Regions from separate parts of the Homo sapiens genome. Here all the other regions are linked to region 1. The links are contacts of gene promoters, found by promoter capture Hi-C in blood cells and fetal thymus (Javierre and others, 2016). All regions are on one chromosome and are shown on one strand. The core of a region is centred on a gene start or on the middle of the fragment in contact, and the rest is flanking DNA. Distances in the headings are between cores, read along the strand shown. Region 1 holds the start of CLDN1 (claudin 1). Region 2 overlaps P3H2 (prolyl 3-hydroxylase 2). Region 3 has its middle 19 kb from the start of LINC02013. Region 4 holds the start of LINC02013 (long intergenic non-protein coding RNA 2013). Region 5 overlaps P3H2 (prolyl 3-hydroxylase 2). Region 6 has its middle 62 kb from the start of GMNC. Region 7 has its middle 34 kb from the start of GMNC.

What was found. The method cuts DNA at HindIII sites, captures the fragments that hold promoters and counts their contacts. A CHiCAGO score of 5 or more calls a contact.
Region 2: a contact is called between a fragment that was not itself captured here and the fragment with the promoter of CLDN1 in region 1, in 1 of 17 cell types (megakaryocytes). The highest score is 5.1, in megakaryocytes.
Region 3: a fragment that was not itself captured here is called in contact with the fragment with the promoter of CLDN1 in region 1 in 1 of 17 cell types (neutrophils); the score reaches 7.3 in neutrophils.
Region 4: a contact is called between a fragment that was not itself captured here and the fragment with the promoter of CLDN1 in region 1, in 2 of 17 cell types (M2 macrophages and neutrophils). The highest score is 6.1, in M2 macrophages.
Region 5: a fragment that was not itself captured here is called in contact with the fragment with the promoter of CLDN1 in region 1 in 1 of 17 cell types (endothelial precursors); the score reaches 5.3 in endothelial precursors.
Region 6: a contact is called between a fragment that was not itself captured here and the fragment with the promoter of CLDN1 in region 1, in 1 of 17 cell types (neutrophils). The highest score is 8.7, in neutrophils.
Region 7: a fragment that was not itself captured here is called in contact with the fragment with the promoter of CLDN1 in region 1 in 1 of 17 cell types (neutrophils); the score reaches 6.2 in neutrophils.

What each region holds. Positions count from the first base shown.
Region 1 is chr3:190,320,454-190,324,543 of GRCh38, forward strand. It overlaps CLDN1 (claudin 1), which reads right to left and starts at 1,993. Exons shown (of 4, transcript NM_021101.5): 1 at 1,531-1,993. The coding sequence starts at 1,753. It also overlaps a transcript of CLDN16 not described here. RefSeq lists a silencer at 1,984-2,143. The HindIII fragment of the contact is 3,794 bases long and covers 1-3,019 here.
Region 2 is chr3:190,032,659-190,036,694 of GRCh38, forward strand. All of the region lies in intron 1 of P3H2 (prolyl 3-hydroxylase 2), which reads right to left. Among named protein-coding and RNA genes, the nearest start is that of P3H2, 86 kb to the right of the region's middle. The HindIII fragment of the contact is 198 bases long and covers 2,578-2,775 here.
Region 3 is chr3:190,715,911-190,720,271 of GRCh38, forward strand. It overlaps the pseudogene CCT6P4. Among named protein-coding and RNA genes, the nearest start is that of LINC02013, 19 kb to the left of the region's middle. The HindIII fragment of the contact is 4,943 bases long and covers 567-4,361 here.
Region 4 is chr3:190,695,367-190,699,363 of GRCh38, forward strand. LINC02013 (long intergenic non-protein coding RNA 2013) reads right to left here and starts at 3,948. Exons shown (of 2, transcript NR_183762.1): 1 at 3,185-3,948; 2 at 2,579-2,784. The HindIII fragment of the contact is 1,611 bases long and covers 1,337-2,947 here.
Region 5 is chr3:189,995,298-189,999,609 of GRCh38, forward strand. It overlaps P3H2 (prolyl 3-hydroxylase 2), which reads right to left. Exons shown (of 15, transcript NM_018192.4): 2 at 1-145. Among named protein-coding and RNA genes, the nearest start is that of P3H2, 120 kb to the right of the region's middle. The HindIII fragment of the contact is 817 bases long and covers 2,329-3,145 here.
Region 6 is chr3:190,799,195-190,803,137 of GRCh38, forward strand. No RefSeq gene overlaps it. Among named protein-coding and RNA genes, the nearest start is that of GMNC, 62 kb to the right of the region's middle. The HindIII fragment of the contact is 6,927 bases long and covers 1-3,943 here.
Region 7 is chr3:190,826,880-190,831,251 of GRCh38, forward strand. It overlaps the pseudogene ENAHP1. Among named protein-coding and RNA genes, the nearest start is that of GMNC, 34 kb to the right of the region's middle. The HindIII fragment of the contact is 682 bases long and covers 1,352-2,033 here.

The sequences.
Region 1 (4,090 bases), core at 743-3,242:
CAAATATAACCCCTGAGGGCAATGAGCAACACATAATTACTAAACTTATGGATTGGTTTTGGTGTAAAGAAGTCCTGATATGAGAACCTTCAAAAGCTGAAATAATAACACTCAAAACAACCATGCACATTGACTGAGCAAATGCCACAGGTATTCAAGGTGTTCAAACAGATTTGGAACAGGTTTAATAACTCTAAACTATATGGCTTTTGATATACACTATTAAAAGTTGTCCCTTGATAGGAGGTAGACAAAACAAGTTAAGTAAACTTGAACAATGCCAACACTTTTCACCCTTAGCATGCAATGGGGGCCAGTGGGCAGTCACGTTCATCTAGGCAAAGACTAAGGGATCTTTTCTTCAAGTGAGTTAAAGGGCATAACAGACACATGATATAAGACAATTAATGTGATTTCTCAAGGAAGATACTCCAGCCGTGAATCATTATTATCTAAGTAAATGGGAATTTAATGACTTTTCGGACAAGGAACTCGAAACCTTTAATTTAAAAAACAAAGTAAAACAATTATCCTATTATCCTTCTTCCCACCATCCTTAGAAATATGTCTCTCTATACAATCCTTTCCAGTTTTACAGGGGGTCACTGAACATCCATTACACAGAAATTTCTTTGTGGAAGATGGAAACCTAAGGAAGACCCACCTCTTCTTTCTCTCTCACTGCCTTCCACTCCCAGCTGACCTCTGATTTCATCAGCTATGACTATTTTGCTGCATTTCCCTTCAGTGCCTTTACTTTTTTCTTTGTATTATGTTGCGCAGGTTATTTAGAACCTTTCTTGTCAGCCTTTCCCCACCTGCCACCAACCTTCTCTTTCCAAGATAGCACTACACCGTCAGCCTCTACAGAAGACCTTGGGTCTGAAAATTAAAACTTCGGGGGAATCTCAAGCAGCTTCTCCAAAGAGTCTTGCAAGGGGCCTCCCTGCACTAACTGGATCTTATAAATTAAAAGAATCAACCTCAAGCATAAGCAGAAGACACTTAGATAGGACATTTCCAGTAGGAATGTAACTTTTACTATGAAAAAATCATATTAAAGGTTAAAAAGTTATATCTAATACTTGAGGATTATTTATTTAAGCGTGCACACTTGAGAAGTTACCAGGCTTCAAACTTTTTCAGTCATCCCATTTTCTTGTCTGAACTCTACCAATCCTCAATTTACCCCAAATCTCGGAATGCCTAGGAGAGGTCTAAGAGCTCAAGTTCAAGTTTGGCCTTCACTCCCTCAACTCGAACCACCAGCATAGGAATTTAGGATGAAGCCACACCTAGAGTGGCAGAAGTGTCACCCAGGGAGTTAGAGGCAAAACTAGAGCTTATGCCTGGGCGTCGCTTTCCTCAAACCAGGATTCTCTTCATTTCCTTATGACAGAGCACATGATCAGAAGACTTGATCAACTGAAGACTGATAACCATGGAATCACACAACAGAATGAGCCCATAAGGGAGCTGCAGGGGGACTGGGGCCTCTGGACGGCCGCTGTGAGGTGGGGGTGCACTCACTGCTCAGATTCAGCAAGGAGTCAAAGACTTTGCACTGGATCTGCCCGGTGCTCTGCGACACGCAGGACATCCACAGCCCCTCGTACATGGCCTGGGCGGTCACGATGTTGTCGCCGGCATAGGAGTAAATCCTCCACTGGGGCAGGGCAGTGCTGACGATGGCGCCGATCCATCCCAGGAAGGCGAGAATGAAGCCCAACAGCTGCAGCCCCGCGTTGGCCATGACTCGCTCGGGCGCCCGCGCTGGCTCAGGGGTGGCAGGTGCAGAAGGCGGAGAGTTTGCAGGTGGGCAACCCGGACTCCCGAAGGTGGCTGGGCCCCGCGGAGGAAGTTAAGGCGGGGAGCCCTGCTCGCTGCGCCGCCGCTGGAGAAGCTCTGGGTCGGGGTTGGGGTCCGCGCCCGGGGCGGCGCTGGAGTCTGGATACTAGAAGCTGCGGTTGCTCCCAGGCTCGGGAACTGAGACGCAGAACCGCTGGGCGCCGCGATTTAAAGCAGCTCCGCCCGCCTCAGCCCCGGCAGCCGGGGAGCGCCCCCTGGCGGTTTCAGGGCGGCTCACCGAGAGGGCGCCGGGAGCGCCCGGTTGGGGAACGCGCGGCTGGCGGCGTGGGGACCACCCGGCAGGACCAGGCACCAGAGCTGCGTCCCTGCTCGCTTTCTCTCGTGGATCTTCTCGCTCCTGTAAGGCGTTTCACGCTTTTCATTCATTCACTCCAATTATCCAAAAATTACTATGCACTGTACTTGTAAATCCTAACACAAAGATGAAAAAATGATCCTTCAAGAGCTGCAGTTTTAGGTTTAATACTTTTTTCCCAATATCTTATTAAAAGGCATTTCTACCCAACTCCGCGTCTCCTCCCCCATCACACCATTTCTCTCTCCTTTGCTTGGCTTCCTCCCCCTTCTTTCCTCTCTCTGCTCTCTTCTGTCAAGGTCGTTCCATCACTTGTCTCTGCAAGGAGCCTCAGAGACTTTTACACTCTACAGATTGGGAAACAGACCCAGAGAGCAACATGATTTACACACACACACACACACACACACAGACACACTCACGCACGGAGCATATCCAGTACTTGGCTCCCCTCCCAATCTGCTTTCCACTACATATCAAGTTGACCCAAAATATCCCCTTTGATCTATGATTGTCCTTTTTGATGTATTATTGTCCTTATGAAACTGCAGGCTAGCAGCCCTTCCCCGCCAAACACCAACCTCCTCCCCACAGCAGTTATGTCTTAGAGCAGCAATTCATTATCAGAGGGACCTGGCCAGTGCCCCGCTCTCCCTGAAAGGTGTTAATTTTGTGAGTTATCAAATGTTGTTCGTCGCAGGTGAGGACATGTAAACAGCGTTTCCCCAGTGGCAAAAGGACTGGGCTGGAGTTGAGGAAGTCTGGGCTCTGGTTCCAGCTTTTACTGTGACTGGCTATCTCACCCCTCCGGTTTCGGTCTCGCTGGGACTGTAGTTTCCCTCTATGTTTCTCCAAAGCTTCCTTCTTTGTAGTTAGTCAGAAGTGCTGTTGTGGTTAGGAATCATTGAAATGTTTTTCCAACTGCTTTTTGTGTGTGGTGCGAGTGTGGTGGGAGGGGAAGCTTCTATGGTTTTAGTAAAAACAGAAGCATCTTGGAAGCAGAAATAAACATATTAAGGATAAAATAAGATATACCCTTATATACCATGGCAACTGCTAGTTGGTGACAGAGAAGGAAAGGTGCAAATTCTCAAGGTGGGAATGGGAAGAAAGGCCAAGCCCCACCACCTTCATTTCCACCTGGCTCTCCCTGGATGCCTTTCATGTAGGCTTAAAACTAAAGGACTTGGCCGTGCTAGGATTTAGGGACAAGCAATGAAGAATGTAAGACAGGAGCTAGATGAAGACAATTAATTTGGACTGAGATTAACACAGTGAATACTGTCTTTCTCCTATCAGCTGTTTAGGACAAGACCATGTTCGTGTTGTATCCCAGGGTTAGGGCCTGCAGTCAGTACTACTGTCTAGGTCTCAGTGGATGTTCTGTGGGTGCCTGTCAGTGTGGATGAAGATGTATCAATCACATTTGATTTTGTAAAAATTCCCTGATCAGAGAAGGCACTGGAATTTGCTGCAGGACTAGAGCAGTACCATGTGAATCATATAATCTCATTTTCTTCTTTTTTTTGTTCCAAACATTTAAGAATTAAAAGTATTATTAAACACCCGGGCACGGTGGCTCAGGCCAGGCGCAGTGGCTCACGCCTGTAATCCCAACACTTTGGGAGGCTGAGGCAGGCGGATCACTTGAGATCAGGAGTTCGAGATCAGCCTGGCCAACATGGTGAAACCCCGTCTCTACTAACAATATGAAAATTAGCCGGGCATGGTGGTGGGCGCCTGTAATTCCAGCTACTTGGGAGGCTGAGGTAGGAGAATTGCTTGAACCCGGGAGGCGGAGGTGGCAGTGAGCCCAGATCGTGCCACTGCACTCCAGCCTGGGCAACAGACCAAGACCCCATCTCAACAAATAAATAAATAAATAAATAAACAAATAAATGACATTTTCTGCGTTCAGTAAATATA
Region 2 (4,036 bases), core at 1,427-3,926, 290 kb before region 1:
TATTTCCTCCTAGAAACTTTGTCTACAATAAAATTAAATTGTCACCCTATGACAGAGTCACTGAGAAGGAATGTTCAAGTTTTGGCTTTTTTGGTAGGTGTGATTTAACTCAGCGGTCTCCAGCCTTTTTGGTGCCAGGATTTCGTGGAAGACAATTTTTCCATGCACCACGGTGGGGATTGTGAGGAGGTAGGGTAGGGCGATGGTGTGAGAATGATTCAAGTGGATTACATTTATTGTGCACTTTATTTCTATTATTATTACATTGCAATATATAATAAAATAATTATACAACTCACCATAATGTAGAATCAGTGGGAGTCCTGAGCTTGTTTTCTGAAACTAGACGGTCCCATCTAGTGGTGATGGGAGACAGTGACAGATCCTCAGGCATTAGATCTCATAAGGAACTCGGAACCTAGATCCCCCACATGCAAAGTTCACAATAGCGCTCGCGCTCCTAAGAGAATCTAATGCCACTGCTGATCCGACAGGAGGCAGAGCTCTGGCAGTAATGCAGGCGGTGGAGAGCAGCTGTAAATACAGTCGCTTGCTCACCTGCCGCTCACCTCCTGCTGTGTGGCCCAGTTCCTAATGGGCCACAGACTTGTACGGGTCCGTGACCTGGGGGTTGTGGACTCCTGATTTAACTGAATTAGTAATATTGTGGTGTTTTCTCTTTTCAAAATAACCAGAATATATACCTTTATTAAAATTAATATTGGAAATTTAGAAAAATATAGAGAGAAATCTGTGAAAGAAAATAAAATATCTAGAACCAACTGGGTACTTTTCTCATACTCCTTGAGAGAAAATTATCTATTATTTTTAAACATTTTTGTCATTTATGACTGCAAAAAGAAAACTTATGATTTTTTTCTTTCAGTAATCTCATGTTTAGTACATGTCTATTTCTTTATGAGCTCAGGATCCATTCTGTATTGTTTGGCCGTAGCATTTCAATCTTCATTTGCAAACCATACGGCCTTCATTCCATTTGGATGTGGCTGGTCCTGTAAACTTGGCTGTAAAAGTCCCAAAAGAAGTAACTATTCTTACCAAGTTATCTGTACCTGGTTTTGCTGCCTTTTAATCCCCATGATTTAAGCTATTTGCAAGAGACTGCTGAAGACCTCCTATCCTAAAATCCCATGTTGTTGTTTATTTTTCCAACAAAAAATGGATGATATTCATATCCTATTGCTCAGGGTAAGACAATCTCCTCTTTTCAACAATTTTGTTATTTTACCGCCAAATATTTAATAAACAGAAATTTGCGTACAGTGGTTTTCTTGGCAACCAGGGAAGCTTATATTTTCTGCTTTTAGATATTTACTTTCCTAACATGGGTTTTGCTACAATTTCAAGCTCACGTTACAGAATACTTTCGTAAACAATATTCAGACGGAACACGATGTTATAAAAAAAGATTTAATGTAGTTATTGTGGCAAGATAAGACTCAACATGATATAAAGACATCTAAAAATGTGCATAGACCTCTTTTATAAATAATCCTGTCCAAAGGACTAGATAAAGGGATAGTTGAAATAATCACATATGAATAATTGTTCCTCATAAACTCTGTCAAAAGTCAGGTTTAGTAATGAGAGAGACACCTAAAAAAGATGACAGCTGGACTTGCACTTTTGGTGGTAGTACTTTCTCTAGGCATATTAGGTATAATCTTTAAGCGACAGAATTTGAACAATAATTTGTCTCACTATTTGGACATTGAGTTTCACAATAAACACAATAATTCAGAAGTTTCTGCAGTATTGCACAGTTTCAGATATGTAAAAAACATAGGAAAATAATAACATACTCTCCATGTGATTTTGGTCACCCATAAAACAGAAAGAAGCCAGAAACAAAATGATTCATATTGTTTGATCCCATTAATAGACTTTTGCAATAGGCAAAACTTGAGGAAGAAAGAACAAACAAATGGTTGTCACAGATTGGGAAGGAGGGAGGGGTTGATTATAAAAGGGCTGCATGAGGGAATTTTGGGTGGTGACGTAACTGCTCTGTATCTTAGTTTCTGTGTGGTGGTCAACATGACTGAATTTGTTGATGGGAATCGATCTATACATCAAAAATGGGAATTCTGCTGTATGTTTATTTAAATTACATTAAATAATTTCAAATATTTAAAAATATCTGGCCAAATCGCTTTTTCTTTTCTTTTCTTTTCTTTTTTTTTTTTTGAGACGGCATTTCACTCTGTTGCCCAGGCAGGAGTGCAGTGGTGTGATCTCGGCTCACTGCAACTTCTGCCTCCCAGATTCAAGCGATTCTCCTGCCTCGGCCTCCTGAGTCGCTGGGATTACAGGCATGTACCACCACACCCGACTAATTTTTGTATTATTATTAGAGACAGTGTTTCACCGTATTGGTCTGGCTGGTCTCACACTCCTGACCTCAAGTGATCTGCTTGCCTCAGCATCCTGAAGTGCTGAGATTACAGGTGTAAGCCACCGCATCTGCCCCCAAATGGCTATTTTTTTCTTTTCTTTTTTTTGGTTTTTTTGTTTGTAATTGCTTCCTTGGCAACTAGGAATAGTTCATAAAACAAAAGCTTTTATATCAGAAGACCAGAGTTTAAATATTGGCTCCCACATTATTTGCTGCATAACTTTACAAAAATATTTTAACTTCTCTGGTTCATTCTATTTAATAGGTATTAGAGGATACCTGATACCCAACCTGCCTCAGTATATTTGACAATTGAGTTAGTCTATATAAAATCCTATTAAAATGTTATGTGAATATAAAGCTTATTAAAGAGATATTTAAAAGTTTTAAATTCTTAAAGATTAAACAGTCTTAAATCCTTCATTTTTTTTTCTCTTGTAAACCCTTGAATAAATTTCTCAGGACATCTCTTTGTCACTCCCTTTTAATCTACCAGCTATGATGTATATAGCAATTTTCTGTCACCCATTAATAATCTTATGCGTTTTATTTTTTACTTTTGCTCTTTTATTGATACTGTTATCATGTCCTTTGCCTTAATTTACACTAAAGGACAGCAGGATGGGAGTATTGCACTATTGATAACTCAAAATAATCTCCATTTAAACAAAAGGCAAAAGGCTAAATACCTTCTGTTGGGCTTTAGGCTGCTTGGGGGATTTAAAGCAAACCCAGATCTTATACCGGAATGTCTTATTAGAGTTTTTCCTTCAACATGTGCTTCTAATTAGCAGTAATATTTGGAGTGGGGGCAGGGGACAAAGGGTACATACAGGTTATGTTATCAATTGTTAAGTTACTTAGTTTAAATTCTACACAGTAAGCTGCAGTGAAGGGTCCCTGGAAACCATTTGTTAGTTGGATGAATATTTCTGACCAGTTATTTTATTCAATTGCAAGAATTGTCTCTACTTCTGCACCATTTGGTTTCCCATTTTGCCATATTCAGAATGAAATTTTTTCTTCTGAAAGTCTCAGTTGCCACCACCATCTCCTTCCCACTTCTGTTGTTCTCTAAAATGAAGTCACAGTTTGTCTCCCTTTTTTGTATAACCACATCACTCTGCCTTTTCTCCCAAACTTTCTCATTTTTCAGTTAGTCTCAAATTTCTGATTTGAGAATTTTGCTCTTACCTAATGATGCATTCCACATATTTCTTGTGTCTCCAAAGGAATGGTAAATCATACATATAGACTTCATACATGTTTGAATAAATACAACAGTATTGAAAGCCCATCAAAAGGAAGTCCAAGGGAGTGATCAAATTATTTTGCACCTTAGAATTTTGTGCAAATGACTATGCCTTAATAATTAATAACATCTAAACTGGTATATCACTTTATAGTCGACATGATAATTTCATTCTTAACGTAATCTTGTGAGATTATTATTTAAAATCTCCATTTTAAAAAAAATTAACATTGAGTCTTAAAGGAATTATGACTTGCTTAAGATTGCATGATGGCAAGACAGAAATTAAAACTCATAATCTAATGTCAAATCACATTCATTTCCACTTTTCTTTTTCTCCCTCAGTCTCACTCACTGAGTCTACCTTT
Region 3 (4,361 bases), core at 1,788-4,287, 400 kb after region 1:
TGTAACAATCCTCACTCTTTCACATTATTGATCAAAGGACCAAATAAGCACACACTCTCTCAAATCAAAGAAGCCATCAGAGATGGCTTGAGGACTGTAGGAGGAGCTATTAATGATGGCTGTGCAGTTCCAGGTGCTGGTGCCGTGGAAATGGCAATGGCAGAAGACCAGTGTAAAGGGCAGTGCACAGCTTGGAGTTCAAGCATTTACTGATGCATTGCTCAATTATTCCCAAGGTTCTTGCTCAGAATTCTGCTTTTGACCTTCAAGAACGTTAGTTGAAATTCAAGCAGAATATTCAGAATCAGTCAGCTTGTGGATGTGGACCTCAACATAGGTGAGCCAGTGGTAGCAGCAGAAATAGGAGTATGGGATAACTATTGTGTAAAGAAACAGCTTCTTCACTCCTGCACTGTGATGGCCACCAACATTCTCTTGGTTGACGAGATCATGAAAGCTATTAATAGAATGTCTTCTCTGAAAGGTTAAGTTGAAGCTTCGCTGTATCTGAGTCTTGAGACTCTGCAAAGTGATCCTGAGGAATGTAGCTGTGGAATTTTTGTCCAAGCTTCAAATGGTTTTCAAAGGAATTTTCTTTTCCCATATGAAAAAAGGAGAGAACACTGGTACCTAGTGAAATTTTGAAGTTCTGAAATTACAATTACAGTATTTTTTTAATTGCACTGAAGTAAAAACCCATAAAGCAGGTCCATGTGTGTCTTTTACCCAGTGAGCAGGATGTTTTGCTTCAGCTGCAGTGACATAAAAATCCATGTTAGAAAAGCATATGTTATCTACCTTATTATTAAATATTTCTTGAAAAACAAATTTTAATGGTTTAATAATTTCTTATGAAGATGTTTGTTAAATTATCCAACAGTGTCCTATTGTCAAGTATTTAGGTTTAAAAAAAGTTTTATGCTAATATAAATAACACTTCTGTAATTTAAGATTTTGAAAGCATCCCTGTTGGTATAAATTTCTATTTGTAAACTTATTGGATCAGTTGGACTTTTGCTGCTTTTGAAATAGCTTTGCTACAATACTCCCCCCAAAACGTTAAGCTGTAGCAAATGGGAAGAAGAATAAACTAGAGGCAAAGGGAGTTGAGAGAGCTGCAAGGGACAAGTGGCAAAAATAGAAGAGGCAGAGGTAAAAAGATGATGGAAGGCATGGTGACTAAGGGCTAGGGTTACTGGGTGAAATATGAGATTAATAGCTGACCATATTTTCAAGCGTCTGAACTTTTTGCTTGTGCAACATATCCATCCCAAATGCTCTAGTGCCATATTTTTCTCACCCAAATTACTGTTCTCTCCTACATATTTCCACAAGATTGTTTATATACAGTTGGTCTGTTTCTGTAGTCTTTGGAGACGAAATTGTGTGATACTAAGCTGTGTGGTTTGAGGGTTTAGCAGTTATCTGCAATGAATATGTAATAAATATTAAGTTGAATCCTCAAAACAAAAAATAAAATGTGTTGTTTAGTATGTAGCCACCTTTACCAGCTATCTGAGCGAGATCTTTTGGATAACTTGCTGCAACTTCTATATCAGCACTTGCTGCCTTACCTTGCACTTTCATGTTATGAAAATGACTTCTTTGCTTAAATCTCATGAACCAAAAATTTGCCAGCTTCTGACTTTTCTTCTTTAGCCTCCTCACCTCAGTTTGTAGTGTCTTGTGGATCATAGTACGGTCTTGCTTTGGATTAGGCTTTGGTTTAAGGGAATGTTGTGACTTGTTTGATACTCTATCCAGACCTCTCTAACTTTCTCCATACCAGCAATAACGCAGATTTACTTTTTTATTTGTGTGTTCACTGGAATGGCACTTTTAATAGCCTTCAGTAATTTCTCCTTTGCAATCATAATTTGGCTGCTGGGAGCAAAAGACTTAGCTTTGGGCCTATTTCAGCTTTCAACATGTCTTCCCCTCATGTAATCGTTTCTATTTTTTGGTTGAAAGTGAGAGGCACGTGATTCTTCCATTCATGTGAACACTTAGAGGCCATTTTAGGGTTATTGTTTGGCTCTATTTGATTTGATTTTTTTAAATTTATTTATTTTTGAGGCAGAGTCTCACTCTATCACCCAGGCTGGAGTGCAGTGGTGCGATCTTGGCTCGCTGCAACTTCCGCCTCCCAGGTTCAAGCGATTCTCCTGCCTCAGCCTCCTGAGTAGCTGGGACCATACCAAGCTAATTTTTGTATTTTTAGTAGAGATACGGTTTTGCCACGTTGGCCAGACTGCTCTCAAACTCCTGACCTCAAGTGATCCGCCCACCTCAGCCTCCCAAAGTGGTGGGATGACAGGCATGAGCCACAGTGCCTGGCCTGGCTCAATTTGAATATTGGGATGTCTCAGGGAATAGGGAGGCTGAAGTGGAAGGAAAGAGATAAGAGAATGGCCAGTTGGTGGAGCAGTCAGAACACACACAGCATTTATCGACTACTTCAGTCTTATATGGGTGTGGTTCATGGTGCCCCAAAACAAAAACACCAAAGATCACTGATCACAGATCACCGTAATAGATATCATGATTATGAAAAAGTTTGATATATTGCTAGAGTCACCAATATGTGACACAGAAACAAGAAATTGAACACCTGCTGTTGGAAGAATGGCGCTGATGCAGAGAGCCTTCCTTGTTCCACACAGAGTTGTTACAAACTTTCAATTTGTAAAAAACACAGCATCTGCCAAGCACAATAAAGTGAAATGAAATAAAACAAGATGTGCCTCTTCTGCCAAAAACTGCAAAATTTTTCAAAAATTTAAAGTGAATCTTAAAATGTATACTTTTTTATTTTTGTTAATAAAAACTTCCTTGAGTAGGCTCAGATTTGTCGTCATAAGAATATTTTTGTTTTGATTTCATTCCAACATTGAAATTAAACTGTTTCCTAAGAATACCAGCTGCTATGAGGGATTCGTGATCTGAAAGTACCACAGAAAGCAAAGAACAGAAAATGAAAACATGGTGATTAAATGTCCATTGGATGAGTCATATGATGGTTATCCTGAAAGAACCTGAAAATGAAACATCCCTAAAACTATGAGAAGCAAAAAAAAAGTGCTGTCTAAATATACACTTGCCAGTAAATGCGTGTAAGGGCAGATTCCAGCGTGGGCATAAACCAATATTAAATTAATAACCACAAAAGAAGCTCTATTGATTAGCCTATTGCCTCACCTGTAATGCCAGTACTTAAATCTGAATGCAAACACTAATGAACAGGTTTAGGTTGTACTTTACAGTGATTGACAGCACTACGGGAAGTCAGATGCCAATGTTTTCTCATTGTAATATGTTAAGAACCTTTTTCCCTCCCAGAATCACCATGCAAAGCTATCCTCCAGGAAAATCACAGGTGGATCTAGATCCATCACATTTTAACTACAACTGTAGTTATAGTTAAACAGTGATTTAATATTTTACAAAATCTCAAAGATGTTGACTACTAATAATATGTTACTAATTATATTTTTGGAGAAATCTCACTGTTGAAACTAGGACTAAACCAAATTATAAGAACGTAAGAAAGACATGCCACATAACACTAATAAGCAATGAGTCTTTTTCCACAGATTCTTTTTATTTTATTTTTTATTTTTTTATTTTTTTATTTTTTTTTACACAATTCTCTCTAAAGGACACTTGTTGGATAGCAGATGGAGGTTGTATGGCATTGACCTCAAAGGTTAATGATGTATCTTTAAGTATTCATTACACAACTTTAACAATTCCTTACACAGTGAAACATTTTAGAGTTTTCAAAGGGCTTTCACTTTGACTGCTGATTATATTGTGAAGGATTGAATAATGTACAAAGTGTCTCAAGCGTATGTTTTTCTTCACAGCATAATCCTGACATGTTTAAATATGCTATAAAAGTATATTGGATGAATTAATGAATTTGGTCCACACAACAAACTATGTTAGGCATACATAGAAGAATTATTATACAATTTTACATGCTAGAAACAGTTCTAGTGATTTGCTAGGATGTCTTAACTATAGATAAAAGCCTGAGAAGGAATAAAGAAGTGAAATAGCCAATAAAAATCTATAGACATGGAAATTTTCAAAGAACACATACATTTATTTCAACACTGTTATTATACTTATCAGAAATGATCAACAAAATATAGTAGACAAATGGAAGCCTCAAATCAGGATTCATGTTTTCTCAGTTTTTAGATTTTACTATTTGTACCTTGTGATGTAACTTAGTTTGTTGTTTGTTTGTTTGTTTTTATCCACAGGGGCCAACATCACTAACTTTTTTTGGTATTCGCTTTGAGGATTTATCTTTATCTTTTAAGGGTTAAGGAAGATAATATTTGAATCTTTCT
Region 4 (3,997 bases), core at 892-3,391, 380 kb after region 1:
TGTTGTGATATCATAGTCTAAACTTACAACTTGTCCCTGTTATTTAAGGAATTCCCCACACACATCTGTGCATTTAGCTTAAAACAAGCTGTGGGGATTTTTGTTGGTGCGTGCTGTGTGGGTTTCCCAAATGGAGTCTTTATTTTCAACACCTACAGCTTGCTCAGTCCATTCTGATGCTGGGATGGTTTCCTTCTGTGAGTAAATGTCAGTGAAGTGCTCCAGGCAAAGCTATTGCCCTCATGAAGCTTATGAATCTGGTTTGTTCCCGGAATAGACCCCTTATGCCTACATGCAAGTAAACATTCAGATCAGGTATATTAGCTAATCCAGCTTTAGGAGATTAAAAGAATTGACTCTTGCTGCTGAAGGCTAAAGGACAAGTTTTGCCTCACATTATAATGCTTCACCCAAACCAATTATATACACATTTTTTGTGTGTGTATGTACAGGCATATAGTAGGTACAAAAAAATGTGTGTATATAATCTTATTCTACAAAAGTTCATGGGATCTACTATGAACCAGGAACTATGCTAGGAGTAAGCAGAAAAATACATAAATGTAAATGAGACATACAAACTTGTGAGGGTGATAGGACATACCCAATAAACATGATAACCAAAGACACAGTAAGGTAAATAAGAACCAGTGAAGAGTTACGGGTTTCTAATACCATAGCAGATGTAAAATCCTTTTAAACTCTGAAGCACTCTAACATGTAAGTTGGAGATGATCAGGCTATCCTTGGGTAACAAGTGGGTCAATATTTGGCTTTGGGGCCATTATCTCTTTCATTCTATGTTCTTTTTTATTCTGTGTACCTGGGGAGGTAAGGTTTGCTTTCAGGAGTCATCAGAATCTATTTCACTGCCAGTGTTTCATCATACGCTTTTTGGAGAGTCAATTTCCTTCTGAGGAGAGTAGTTTCACCAGCTAGCATACTGAACGTCAAAGCGTGGTACCTTCCTGTATTCGTACATCCCAGTATTATCTTTCTTCTTTGAAATTACACAAAAACATACATATAATTATATATATAATAAAATAAATATAATTAAGCACATATAATAATACATTTTTCTCAAGAGAACTCTTTCATGGAAACATAGTAAGAAAAGCAAATTACCTTAGTTGAATCGGAGGAAGTGCCAGAGCCTGCCTTACTCAGCCCTCTTTCTGCTACCCTCACTTCTCTGGGTAAACTCTGTGAAGCCATAATCTCGTAACCTGGTTTAAAACAACTCTATTATATAGCTTTTAAAACACTTCAAATTTTGGCATTCGTGAATCTGAGACTGATAATGCCCGTGTGACCCTATGTCTTTAGCTGCTCAAGCTTACAATCGATGGTAGAATCAATCTTGTGGCAGAGTTCCCAGCCTCCTAGGCTCCTCTTCGCGTAATGCTCTACCTACTCCCCTAATTCTCCAGTTTTGGCAACTGAAACCCTGCATATGGCCTGCTTCAGATCTCTGGTGTGGAAATGTATGAGATATCAAGTACTTTTAGCCCCTGAGTTTTCCCTGGACTTGGTTGAGCCTTCACCTCTGGCTCCCTGGTCGTGGATACTACGCTGAATTAGAAAATCCTGCCGGTTTTTCCCTAGTGACCCAGTCTCAACAACTAACTTGCATGACCAGTACATGAGCTGGGACTTCTCTAGCTCTCTGGCAGAAAGTATTTACACTAAAATCTTTGACAAAGTGTACTTCTCCTAAGAGTGCGGTTTTTTTTTTTTTTTTAACCATAACACGGAAGAAAACCTTAGGTTAATTTCTGACCTGCACAGCCTCAAACTAAAGCATGCCAGAATTGCAGGAGGATACGAAGAAAACAGAAAATTGCAGTACCTGAAATCTAACAGCTACCACCTTTACTGAGCTGAATGTACTAGAATTACCAGGGAACAGCTAGAAAGAAAAAATAATAATAATTCAGGAAAGGAAAAATGTGTGTTTTTGACCCTATTTCTTTTTGATGCAGGCTGTGTGTGGAAAAGAGCTTGAAAAGAATTTTATCTTGCTCCACCTCGTGGTGGATGCCTGCAACATAATAATTCTTATGCAGTTTCTTCCAAAACAAAAACAAAAACAGAAACAAAGACAAACAAAAAAAAAATCACTGTGGATCTCTTTGCATGTCTTAAATAAAAATTTTCTGAAATTGAAAATTGAATTGCAATTCTTTTGCAACTGTATACTTATAGCATAAGAATGGAGACATCTCAGGCATTCAGTACAGCAGAAAACTATATTAGAAATTATAGTTTAAAAATAATTTTTAAGACATTCTTGCAGTGAATATCAACAATTTTTTGGTACATGAGGAGCTTCTGCCCCTGTAGGAATAAGTATGTCTGAAACATGAAAGAAAGAAAGAAAGAGAAGATAAAAGGAAGGAAGGAAAGAAAAGAACAGAAGGAAGGAAGGAAGGAAGGAAGGAAGGAAGGAAATTAATTTTTAGAAATAACCAGGGGCTGATTTATGTGCAATATGATTTTTTTCAGAGTTCATAAAGGGGAATGTGTGCTCCCCTACTCTCTAATTCCTGACATTTTTAAATGGTTAATACGGGTCTTTTATTTAAATGATGTTCTTTTTTATTGGCACATGTGGGTCAATTTTCTCCTTTTCTGTTTTACTCAAACCAAAAGCTGCACTCTCGGCAATTTGTCCCTTACAGAAGAGGCTGTTTCTTGTTACAACAGTACCGTGCTGTGCTTCAGCCATCCATAACACGCCCACTGTATGTAGTCTCATAGGAGGCATTGCAGGTCCAGTGTCTAGCCAGAAATGAGAAGCAGAGATTGTTATTTTTTTTTTGAGGTGTGACTCACCCACAACCTTCTCAATTCCAACTAGTTTTGTTTTGTTTTCCTGTAACCTAGTTTTAAATATATTTCCAAATCAGAGGCTGCCCTCAAAATGTAACCCTTCACCAACAGAAGCTTGTCTGGGAAGATTCTGCAGAAACTCCTCTCAGATTTGAAAAAATAATGGATTGGAAAATCATGTTTTGGCCAGGGTTCAGCAAAGAAAGTTAGGAACTGGCTACCAACATCACAAGAAACAATACTATATATAAAGGTATTGGTGTATTGAGATAGCTTATATTATTATTCTAGGTAAGGTCATCTAGGGGAATCATATGCCTGCATTTCGGTTCTCTTTTGAGGTACTTACCCTGGGCAATAGGAAGTATGAGAGGGGTTACAGAGATCCTCTTCCTTGGGCAGGAACACGTTTACAGCCATGATAGACACTCACTGTGAGGAACATCAGGTGGTGTGCGTGTGTGTGTGTAGGAGAGGTTGATACTTGAAATAAACCTCCTGAACCATGCTAAGAAGTCCAAAGTATGATAACAAGTGTGGATTTATCCAGATGACATTGGAGTAACACTACAGTGTTTTAAGCAGGGAAATTACATGATCACATTTATATTTTATAACTATAGTAAAGCTTCCATGTGTAGAATAAACTGGAGGAAAGCATACTGAAAGGATGAAGACCATCTAGAAACATATTCAAAAGTCTAGGCAAATGATGGTGATATGCCTAGCCTAGTAGGATTATGGATATTGAAATTGACTGTATTCTAGAGATATTGAGGATAGAGAAACAACAAGACTTGGAAATAGCTTGGGTATCTCCATGATGATAAACAATAATTTGGAAAATACGGTCTTGTTTTAAGTCTTACTGTGAACACATGCAGCTATTTGCCTGTGGATTTGTGTTTTTCTGACTGTAGGAGCATATTGGGTCTACACTCAAGGAAAACTAGAAGTGCAATAGTTATTGCCCCAGAAACAACCCTCAACAAATAACATAAAGGAAGATGACAGATCAATATTTCACTTTCCTCTCACTCGATAATATACCCATAAACTCTGTCCCACTAGAGTTCTAGGGTTCCCCAGAAAGATTTAGCTCCAGTTACCAATAGTGGTACATGACTTCATAATGCCCCCTGCGCTAGAATTCTTCCATTTC
Region 5 (4,312 bases), core at 1,487-3,986, 320 kb before region 1:
GCTTGGCTTCTCTGTCTACCAACTGCAATGCTTCAACACCAGCTGTCGCCCTGTAATTCTCAATGTTCTGCTGCATTTCCATGTGCTCAGGGTTAGCCACGAAAAATGTGTGAGCTGCTTCCACTGCTTTTTCGAGCTGGTTAAGCTAAAGAGAAAAAAAAATGACCAAAATGAAGGCAAATATTTCCAAATCACACTCAGAGAAATACAAAGATCAATCCAAAATCTCACAGTTTAAGAATGAAACTAGGAGCCTTGGTTTTTTTTTTTTTTATCAGACAGGCAATAAAAACAAAATAAATGGGATTATAACAAAGTAAAAAACTTCTGCACAGCAAAGAAAGCAATCAACAGGTGAAGATACAACCTACAGAATGCAAGAAAATACTTGTAAACTATATATCCATATCCAAAAGGGGTTAATATCTAGGATCTATAAGATATATAAAAAGCTGAAAAAACTCTATAGCAAGAAAAGAAAGATTAAAAAATGGGCAAAAGATCTGAAATGACATTTCTCAAAAGAAGATATACAATTGGCCAACAGGTGTGTGAAAAAATGCTCCACATCACTAATCACCAGGGAAATGCAAGTCAAAATCACAATGAAATACAACTTCATTCCAGTTAGAATGGTTATTAACAAAAAGATAAAAGATAACAAGTGTTGACAAGGAAGTGGAGAAAAGGGCACCCTTATACACTGTTGGTAGGAATATAAATTAGCAAGACCATTATGAAAAACAGTATGGAGTTTCCTTAAAAAATTAAAAGTAGAACTACCATAAGATCCAGCAATCTCACTGCTGGGTATATATCCAAAGGAAATGAAGTCAGTATGTTGAAGCTATATCTGTACTCCCATGTTTATTGTAGCACTATTCACAATAGCCAGGACATGAAATCAACCTAAGTGCCCATCAGCAGATGAATGGATAAAGAAAATGTGGTACATATACACAATGAAATATTATTCAGCCATAAAAAATAATGAAATCCCATCATTTGCAACAACATGGATGAATCTGGAGGATATTATGTTAAGTGAAATAAGCCAGACACAGAAGGACAAATACCACATGATCTCATTCTTATATGGAATCTGAAACAGTTGATCTCATAGAAGTAGAGTGGAACGGTGATTGCCAGAGGCTGGAAAATGTAGGAAAGGGAGAGACAGGAAGAGGTTGGTCAAAGAGTACAAAGTTATAGTTAAAGAAGAAGAATAATTTCTGGTGTTCTATTGCACAGTAGGATAACAATAGCTAACAATTATGTATTGTATATTTCAGAATAGCTAGAAGAAAGCATTTTTAATGATGTCACCAACATAAATGATAAGTGTTTTAGGCAACAGATTTGCTGATTACCCTGATTTAATCATCATACAATGAATACACATATGGAAACATCACACTGTACCCGTAATTATGTATACTTATTATGTGTCAATTAAAAATAAGACAAAACTTTTAAAAAAATTAAAAGGATAAATTATTCCAATGCATAAAGATGCTAAGAACAGCACATAAAATGCTTTACCACACAGCTTTGAGATATTTGATTCCAAACTTACAACTTTGATTCTCATTAATAAAAAAGAATTTTGAACCACCACTACACAGACACTGCCAACTGTCTCCTAAACCACTTAATACAATGATCTCCATGTAACAAGCAATGATATATTTTTAAAAAATGGAATTAATTTACCCATTTTAACACATTTTTAAAATTATTTTTGAGACGGAGTCTTGCTCTGTTGCCAGGCTGGAGTGCAATGGCGCGATCTTGGCTCACTGCAATCTCTGCCTCCAGGGTTCAAGCGATTCTCCTGCCTCAGCCTCCGAAGTAGCTGGGACTATGGGCACACACCACCATGCCCGGCTAATTTTTGTATTTTTAGTAGAGATGGGGTTTCACCATGTTGGCCAGGATGGTCTCGATCTCCTGACCTTGTGATCCGCCCACTTCACATATTTACATATGCTTTAGTCATGGAGAATTTCAATAGAGAGATCCATTTACCTCACATCAGAAAAATAAAAATTCACATTAGTTATCGTTTTCATGGTGGAATCTAAAATATGCTCAATCCATTTTAGTGTGAAGAAATGAAAACTAATTGTTGCTGAACAATATAAAATCACAGAATGGCATGTAAGATTCAACTGTATCTGCTTTTGACCATTTTGCCACTCAATTATTAAAAACTAGAAGTAGTAGACTCACAAGTGCCCAGTCCCTGCAGTCTTGTGAAATATAATCAACTCTTAACACAAAAACATAAACTGCCCTGTTTTAAGACCTAACATCCCATAATAGTAAAGCTTTCCCTTTTCAAATGTAATTGCACATTTTTAGCTACTGTCTTTCCTTCCATTAAATCTTGCCTGAAATGAGCTCTTCCTGCCACTTTTACCTTTGTCCTCAATTCTGTGCACTCAGAATTATTTTGACTGTCAAAATCACTAATTTTGGATTTCATCTTTCTCAACTTTAATCTTCTCAATCTCTTACATATCAATACAGATAAATATGAATTGTATGCATCTACATAGTAATAACTATATAGGTATAAAGAATGGGTTCAAAATTATGTGTGGTTTGCATTTATTGGCCAAGTGAACCTGGAAAAAGTTGTTTAAACACTGGTGCTTTAATTTTCCCTAAAGAAAAAATGCTCAAAAGAACTATACACCATCATTTACTGTGGAGGATTTTGGAAGGATTCAACTGTGAAATACATATGAATGTGTTCAGCAGTCACTAGAGCACTAGAAAAAGATAAATAATAGCATACAATATATAAATGATCTGTTTCAAGGAGGTGAATCTGCTCCCATTAATGAAGAGTAGAGTTTATAGCTCCCATGAACACATAATATAAGAGGATAGAGTAGGTGCTTCTGGTTGGTGAAAATTTTCTCTGGGCAATAGCCAGTCTACAAGCTATGAGTACAACAGATTAGTACTGACATACTCTGATTCTACAGCACTAGACGTTAAAGTTAATGGAACACAAATAAATATTTATGTTCTTAATTTTCCTACTTTATGCTTTGGCTCAGGATATTCCACTGACTTAGAGAATCTTTGTCCCTCTGTCTTTTCTTACTGAAATATGTCATGTCCTATAAGGCCAAGCTTAAATCCTGCCTTCTCTAAGAGACCCTTTCCCATTCCTGTAGCCATAGTTGGGTACCACAATATACTCTCAACCTGTTCCTTTACTGGTACTTACCATTCTGTACCTTATATATGCATCAGTATATCTGCTTCTCCCATTAGAGCTTTCTGTGGACATGGATCATATGGTATATTAATCTTTTTATTTTCTACCTATTTACATACAGAGTATATCTATGCTATGTCTTAGAAAAGAGAAAAAAACTTGTAAGAAGTAACTTGTAATAAGTTCAAAGGTATATTACATGTGAATATGCTTCATGAATTATAAGGCAGTGGTCCCCAGTCTTTTTGGCACCAGGGTCCAGTTTCATGGAAGACAATTTTTCCATGGATGGGTTGCAGGGATAGTTTCAGAATTAAACTGTTCCACCTAAGATCATCACGCAAGATTCTCATAAGGAGCACACAACCTAGATCCCTCACTTGCACACTTCACCAGAGGGTTGGCACTCCTATGAGAACCTAAGACCTCCACTGATCTGACAGGAGACAGAGCTCAGGTGGTAAGGTTCACCTTCTGCTGTGCAGCCCCGCTCCTAACAGGACTGTACTGATCCATGGCCCAGGGGTTGGGGACCCCTCCTATAAGGTACTAAAAGTTTGTACATTTAATAAAAACTTCTCTGAAATCATCATTCATACTGAGAGCTTCCAATGTGGTTATCACGATGAATGTGATTCCGTAGCTCTTGAAAACAGTCAATGTCAACAAACTGGGTCCTTTTCTCAAATTTGACGTTTTGCTTATTTGGTGCTTTCCTCCTTTATAGTCCAGAATTGAAGATACTACAATCTATAAAAAAAGATTCCATGACTAAAGGCTGAACCATAAAACTTCATGAACTGGCCCTGGCTTTTAAATTATTGTGAACCAGTTTAGGAAACTAGAATTTGCTGCCAGGGTCTATAAAATAAACCACTGTTTTAACTGGAAGCTTGATACCTCTGTCTTCCATTGTATAAATACACACATCCAAAGTGGTAAGAAAAGTCCACATAAACATGTGCATGCTACATATAATGTCATATGATTGGATGGAGGTTATTACAAGGCATAGTCAGTACTAGGTTTCAGCTAAGGAAGGACCTACCCACTCCTCCAATGAAACAAACCAACAGC
Region 6 (3,943 bases), core at 739-3,238, 480 kb after region 1:
ACACAAAATGACCAGAAAACAAATAACAAATGGCAGAATTAAGTCTTTACTTATCAATAATAACATTAAATGTAAATGGACTAAAGGCTCCAACAAAAAGACATAGACTAGTTCAGTGAATGAAAGAACACAACTAATTGATCCATTGCCTACAAGAAACATACTTCACCTATACAGACACACATAGACTGAAAATAAAGGGATGGAAAGAGATATTCCATGCCAATGGAAACCAAAAAAGAGCTAAAATTGCTATACTTATGTCAGCCGAAATAGATTTCAACACAAAAACAATAAGAAGAGACAAAGGTCACTGATATGGTTTGGATTTGTGTCTCCGTCCAAATCTCATGTTGAATTGGAAGAAGGCCTGGTGGGAGGTGATTGGATCATGGAGGTGGATATCCCCCTTGCTGTTCACATGATAGTGAGTTAGTTCTCTTGAGGTCTGATGGTTTAAAAGTGTTTGGCACTTCCCCCTTTGCTGGCTGTCTCTCACGCCACCATGTGAAGAAGGTACTTGTTTCCCCTTCCCCTTCTGCCATGATTTTAAGTTTCCTGAGGTCTCCCAGTCATGCTTCCTGCTAAGCCTGTGGAAGTGTGAGTTAATTAAGCCTCTTTTCTTCATAATTTTTCCAATCTCAGGTAGTTCCTTATAGCAGTGTGCAAATGGCCTAATACAGTCCTATATAATGATAAAAGGGTCAATGCAGCAAAAGGATGTAACAATTTTGAGTATATATGAACCCAACACTAGAGCACTCACAGAAATAAAACAAATATTTTTAGAGCTAGAGAAAGAGAGGCTCCAATACAATAACAGCTGAAGACTTCAACACCTCACTTTCAGCATTGGACATATCTTCCTGACGAAAATCAACAAAGAAACATTAGACTTAATCTGCAATATAGACCAATTGGATCAAATAGATATTTACAGAACATTTCATTCAACGGCTTCAGAAAACACATTCTTCTCCTCAGCATCTTAATCATTTTCAAGTGATATGGTTTGGCTCTGTCCCCACCCAAATCTCAACTTGAATTATATCTCCCAGAATTCCCATGTGTTGTGGGAGGGACCCAGGGGGAGGTAATTGAATCATGGGGGCTGGTCTTTCCCGTGCTATTCTCATGATAGTGAATAAGTCTCATGAGATCCGACAGGTTTATCAGGGGTTTCCTCATTTTTCTCTTGCAGCCTTCGTGTAAGAAGTGTTTTTTGCCTCCCGCCGTGATTCTGAGGCTTCCCTAGCCGTGTGGAACTGTAAGTCCAGTTAAACCTCTTTTTCTTCCCAGTCTCAGGTATGTCTTTATCAGCAGTGTGAAAATGGACTCATACAGTAAATTGGTACCAGTAGAGTGGGGCATTGCTGAAAAGATACTTGAAAATGTGGAAGCGACTTTGGAACTGGGTAACAGGCAGAAGTTGGAAAAATGAGGAAACCCCTGATAAATCTGTCGGATCTCATGAGACTTATTCACTATCATGAGAATAGCACGGGAAAGACCAGCCCCCATGATTCAATTACCACCCCCTGGGTCCCAGTCAAAAGTTTGCTGCAGGCGCAGGGCCCTGATGGAGAACCTCTGCTAGGGCAGTTTGGAAAGGAAATGTGGGATTGTAGCTCCCACACAGAGTGTCTACTGGAGCACTGCCTAGTGGAGCTGTGAGAAGAGGGCCACTATTCTCCAGACCCCAAAATGGTAGATCCACCTACAGCTTGCACCGTGCACTTGGAAAAGCTGCAGACACTCAATGCCAGCCCATGAAAGCAGCTGGGAGGGAGGCTGTACCCTGCAAGGCCACAGAGGCGGAGCTTCCCAAGGCCATGGGAACCTACCTCTTGCATCAGCATGACCTGGATGTGAGACATGGAGTCAAAGGAGATCATTTTGGAGCTTTAAGATTTGACTGCCCTGATGGGTTTCAGACTTGCATGGGCCCTGGAACCCCTTTCTTTTGCTCAATTTCTCCCATTTCAAATGAATGTATTTACCCAATACCTGTACACCCATTGTATCTAGGAAGTAACTAACTAACCTGCTTTTGATTTTACAGGCTCATAGGTGGAAGGGACTTGCCTTGTCTCAGATGAGACTTTGGACTGTGGACTTTTGAGTTAATGCTGAAATGAGTTAATACTTTGGGGGACTGTTGGAAAGGCATGATTGGTTTTGAAATGTGAGGATACGAGTTTGGAGGGGCCAGCGGCAGAATGATATGGTTTGGCTGTGTCCTCACCCAAATCTCAACTTGAATTGTATCTCCCAGAATTCCCACGTGTTGTGGGAGGAGCCCAGGGAGAGGTAATTGAATCATGGTGGCCAGTCTTTCCCATGGTATCTTCATGATACTGGATAGGTGTCATGAGATCTGATGGGTTTATCAGGGATTTCTGCTTTTGCTTCTTCCTCATTTTTCTCTTGCTGCTGCTATGTAAGAAGCTCCATTTTGGCTGGGCACAGTGGCTCATGCCTGTAATCCCGGCACTTTGGGAGGCTGAGGAGGGTGGATCACCTGAGGTCAGGAGTTTGAGACCAGCTTGGTCAACATGGTGAAACCTCGTCTCTAATTTAAAAAATACAAAAATTTAGCCAGGCATGGTGGCATGTGCCTGTAATCCCAGCTACTCGGGAGGCTGAGACAGAAGAATAACTTGAACCCGGAAGGCATAGTTTGCAGTGAGCTGAGATCATGCCATTGCACTCCAGTCCAGGTAACAGAATAAGATTCTGTCTCAAAAAAAAACAAAAACAAAAAAAAGTGCCTTTTGCCTCACACCATGATTCTGAGGTCTCTCCAGCCATGTGGAACTCTAAGTCCAATTAAACCTCTTTTTCTTCCCAGTCTCAGGTACGTCTTTACCAGCATCATGCAAACAGACTAATACACAAAGGATAGACCAGATGTTAGGTCACAAAACAAGTCTTAAAACATTCAAAACAATTGAAATAATATCCAGCATCTTCTATGACCACAATGGAATAAAACTAGAAATTAATAACAAGAGGAATTTAGGAAACTATGCAAGTACATGGAAATTAAACATTACATTTCTGAATGACTAGTGGGTCAACAAAGAAATAAAAAAGGAAATTTAAAAAATGTAAACAAATGATAATGGAAACACAACATGCCAACATCTATGTGATACAGCAAAAGCAGTACTAAGAAGGAAGTTTATAGCTATAGGTCTACATCAAAAAAGAGGAAAAACTTCAAGTAAACAACCTAATAATACATCTTAAATAACTAGAAATGCAAGAGCAAACTGAACCCCAAATTAGAAGAAAAGAAATATTATAATAAAGATCAGAGCAGAGATAAATGAAATTGAAATAAAAAATACAAAAGATAAAACAAAAAGTTGATTTTTTGAAAAGTTAAACAAAATTGACAAAAGATTACCCAGACTAACTAGAAAAAAAGGAGAGTAGGGGAGAGAATATTCAAATAAAGTCAGAAATAAAAAAGGAGACATTACAACTGATACTGCAGAAATTCAAAGGATTACTAGTGGCTACTATGAGCAAATATATGCCAATAAATTGGAAAATCTAGAAGAAATGGACAAATTCTTAGATACCTACAATCTATGAAGATTGAACCGGGAAGAAATCCAAAATCAGAACTGACCAATAACAAGTAATGAGATCAAAGCCAATAATAAAATTATCTCAGTAAAGAAAAGCCCAGGACCTGATTTCTTCACTGCTGAATTACACCTAACATTTTAAAAAGCACAAATAGCAATCCTACTCAAACTATTTCAACAAATAGAGGAGAAGGAATACTTCCAAACTTCCACTTGAGCGGATGATACCCCATTCCCCATGATGTGATTATTTCACATTGCATACCTGTATCAAAACATCTCATGTGGCCCATAAATATATACACCTACTATGTACTCACAAAAATTTTAAAAATTTTTTTGAA
Region 7 (4,372 bases), core at 443-2,942, 510 kb after region 1:
TTTTCCTTGAATTCTTCTCTGACAGAATGGTGCAAGGAATATTAATGGAAAGAAAGTCCATTGACACGAACACGTTAGATGCCCCACAGTCTTTTAAGACATAGTTGTGGAACAGTACTCTTTCTAATCACTATCGTGAGACCGAGGGAGAAAGATGAATAATATCAAGAACTTCCCTGCTCTCAAGGAACTCACACTCTAGTGAAAGTGATAGACATTAAACAAATTGATCACTACATAATGTAGGAATTGCTGTTAAGAAAATGTGCAAGGTTTTGTGGGAGAGAAAAACATGAGAATCTAGTGTAATTTGAGTGTCATAAATAAAAAGACATAAGGAATTTTGGAGGAAAAGGTCGTGTCCAGTTGCAATCTATAAAAAAAGTAAGTCTAAAAACTAAAACTGCCATATGGCATTATTAATACATTTATGTATGAGTATAACATCCACATATTTCTGAATAAAACTAGCTTAGGAGAGGATCGGGAAAAATAACTAGTGGGTACTAGGCTTATTATCTGGGTGATGAAATAATTCGCACCACAAATCCCTATGACACACGTCTACCTTGGTAACAAACCTGCACATGTGCCCCTGAATGTAAAATTAAAGTTTTTTTTTAAAGACTATTGTTCAAAGAAAAGCTAGTTTAAAAGAGGATGTAGTTTAATGTGTTTAGATTTAGTGTTCTGAAGGATCAGAGGCTCTTCTTGCTGTTTACTGAGCTACCAAAGAATAACTACTGACAATTCTCCTCAAGTCTGCAGAGGCCAAGGTGTTATTTTAAATTTTAATCTCTCCTGGTATTCTTCACTGTATTTAGCACAGACTTCAACATAGAGTAGGTATTAACAAATATCTGAATGATAGTGAGGACCAGTTACAAATGCTTGCACAAAGCTAGGAAAATAAGTTTAAAAATCAGAAGTGACATAAGTTGGCTCAGATGAAAAAGGATTAATCTATGAACTGATGATAAGGCTTGAAAAGGAACTTTTCTTGAAAACTAATTCCTGGATCTGAGCATTCACATTTTCTTGCATTCTGTAGCCAGAGAAGGAAAACTTGGGTATCTGGCCCTTGTTCCTTTCGTGAATACAAAACACTCACAGAGGTCTGCAATGAGTATTAATATAGGGGAAGTTAAGGCTTTGAGTGAAATGTTAAAATATGATGTTTATAATAAAATGTTCTCACTAAAGGACAATGGATTTAAACATATAAAATACTATGAGTCATAAGGCATTCATAAGCATGATAAAATGATAAATGATATTATTGCAAGCTTCATCTGGAAAACTAGGTCTGTAGCTGTGCACTTTGGTCACATAACTTAATTTTCAAAGTTGAAGCTTGTTCATCTTGAATTGAAACTTCTAACATTTGAATTGTTTTCATACATCACTTTTTACATGCAGTTCTTCACTTAATTCTTGCAGCAATGCTTATGACAGATTTTTACTAACCTCATTTATGGATACAGAAAATGAAGACTCAGACTGTTTACTTGTTCAAGTTCATCTAAACAGAAAAAATGACAAAGACAGCACTCAAATTTTTGTCTTCTGATTCTAAATTTCATTCACATCCCAGTATATCATACATCTTCTGAATATCAGTTATATTGAATATATTTGAAAGTGTTTGCTAAATGGCGATATGTTGTATACATAAGAGGGACTATGTAATCACTGAAAATCCATTTCATAATTAATTAGTGTATTGATTTTTCCTTTAGCAGTCCTTTTCTAAATGCCAATAAATGTTTTCATCACTAACCAAGGTACTAGAGGAATATGAGGAACTGCTTACAAGTGCCTCCTTATTTCACTGTTACATTTGATTGCACCCATTTGAATAAAAGTAGATCACTGTACACCGGTGTGCACTGACCTGGTTAATATACATGTAAATGACAGCTTTTTCAATGGAGTCGTTTAAAGATAAGCAGCAAATATTTATATTCCTTTAAAGTATTGTTCCAAAAACGACAGCAGCAATTCACAGAAATAAGGCAGTTATTTGAGTTTAAAGCTTTGTTTTATTACCTGGACTGCATATAACTATAAGTTCACTCTTTGATGTATTTGCAATACTACAGAGTCTATTGAAGAACTCCGAGGGAAGGTGTTTGTTTGCATATGGGCAGTAAAACTTTTCTATCCAATAAAATCTGACACGGAACTTTTAAGTAACAAGCACACTGTTGATTAGGTTGGTTTGATTTTCTAATGATTACCAGCCCTATATTTGGACTAAACTCTAAAGTGTATTTAATGGTTAAAAATGATCTGAATTAGCCGTCTATGTTGAAATTAAACAGCATTATTTTACAATTGAGGTAGTCAGTCTCAGAAAAGAAATATTTAATTATTTAGTATCAAATGTAAAGTGGTTACTTCTAGCTCTTTGCTTATACACTTTGCTTGCCAGCCTAATTTATTAAGCACTTTCACAGATATTTTTCCATAAAAGTACATTACATGCCTATTTAGATAGATTAAATTATATAAAACTGAGAATATTAGACCATATTTGTCTTATATAAATTTTAAATGGTTCAACTTGATAGATAATCCTGCTAATGGGAGATCTGAAATGCACTCTTCCCTTTTCTACATTTAATCAAATCAATGTTCCCGTATTTTCAGGTGTCCTTATCAAACTGTTATACGACCTCATCCCTCTAACCAATTCATGCAACAAAAAATATTTTTTGAAGGGAGATTGTGCTGAGATGACAACATCAATTTCCAATAAATGTAGTAATGGATAATGATATAGAAGACTCTACCCTACAAGATTAAGTATAATAGATAAAAATTCCAAATTATAAAAGACAAAGATACATTCAAATAGTTACTTAGATTTCATTAAAATACAGTATTTTGGTCAGATTATCAGCAGTATTGTGAACCCCCAAAGACACTGACAGTCAAAAAAATAAGCTTAGAGATGCTTAGAAGATATTACTAATTAGTAGTATTGAGTTTAGTATTTGCCTTTTTAATGTCTTGTCATATTTAATTTTATTTATTTCATTTTCAAAAGCTATGTTGAAGTTGGCAATATTTCTCATCTCTGCAATGATTATTTTCCTCCTGTGACTATATTATTCATATTTTATGAGGCTCTAGCTTGGCCTAAGTAAGTTAGATCCCGAAGAATTCCAATCTTGATAGAGCAATTTTTCTGCCCTTTGCCGATCTTATTTCTGGCAGCATGGGGCTATTTCATCTTAGATAGATCAGTCTTAGTATAATGGGTAATGTTCATGAACTAAAATGGAAGTCACTGGACCAGGGCTGGAAAAGATGATCCATGACCAGACCGTTCTGACCTTCCGGAGTACTGTCTGCTGACCTACTTGGCAAGTTGAATTCACTCTTCTCATTCATGCATAGCTGCGGCCACTTAAACATTAAAGAGTTGGAACTCATTTCCTTCTCATTTTTTGACCTGAGTCAAAACTCTGTTGTTATTCCTTGATCCAGAATGAGGGAGGATATGTAGGTAAATGCTTCAATGTAAATTGGTGTGTGTATACATATGCATGCCTGAAGTTGTGTGCATTTTAAGTGATGATTTATTTTATTTATTATTATTTTTTAGACAAAGTCTCACTCTTGTCCCCCAGGCTGGAGTGCGATGGTGTGATCTCAGCTTACTGCAACCTCCGCCTCCTGGGTTCAAGCCATTCTCCTGCCTCAGCCTTCCATGTAGCTGGGATTACAGGTGCCTGCCACCATGCCTGGCTAATTTTTGTATTTTTAGTAGAGACAGTTTCGCCGTGTTGGTCAGGCTGGTTTCGAACTCCTGACCTCAGATGATCCACCTCCCTCGGCCTCCCCAAAGTGCTGGGATTACAGGCATGAGCCACCGTGCCCGGCCAAATGGTGATCTGTTTTTAAAAATGGGGCCCAGTTCCATGTTTCTTTTTTCCGCATTCTATAAGGACATGTGAACATGGGGAATATCAGCTTAACCTGCAGTCAATAAGCACACATGAAGTCTTAACAGACATTTAGCACTTGTATATCCTCTTTCTAAGCCTTGAATGCCTTGTGTCTACCCTTAAAATATTCATAAGGAGCTGGAGCAGGGAAGGCTGGTGAGAAAGAACGGAAAGAGGAAGGCTGGAGAGAGAGAGGTTAGAAAGGGAAAAGCTGGAGAGGGAGCGACTGGAACAAGAACAGCTGGAGAGCCAGAGAGAGAGACAAGAACAGGAACAGCAAACTCCTGAATCTGGAGAGGCAAGAAAGACAAGAAAGAGAGAGGCTAGAGAGACTGAAATGGGAGAGGCAAGAGAGGGAGCGACAAGAACAGTTAGAAAGGGAACAACTGGAATGGGAGAGAGAGCGCAGAATATCA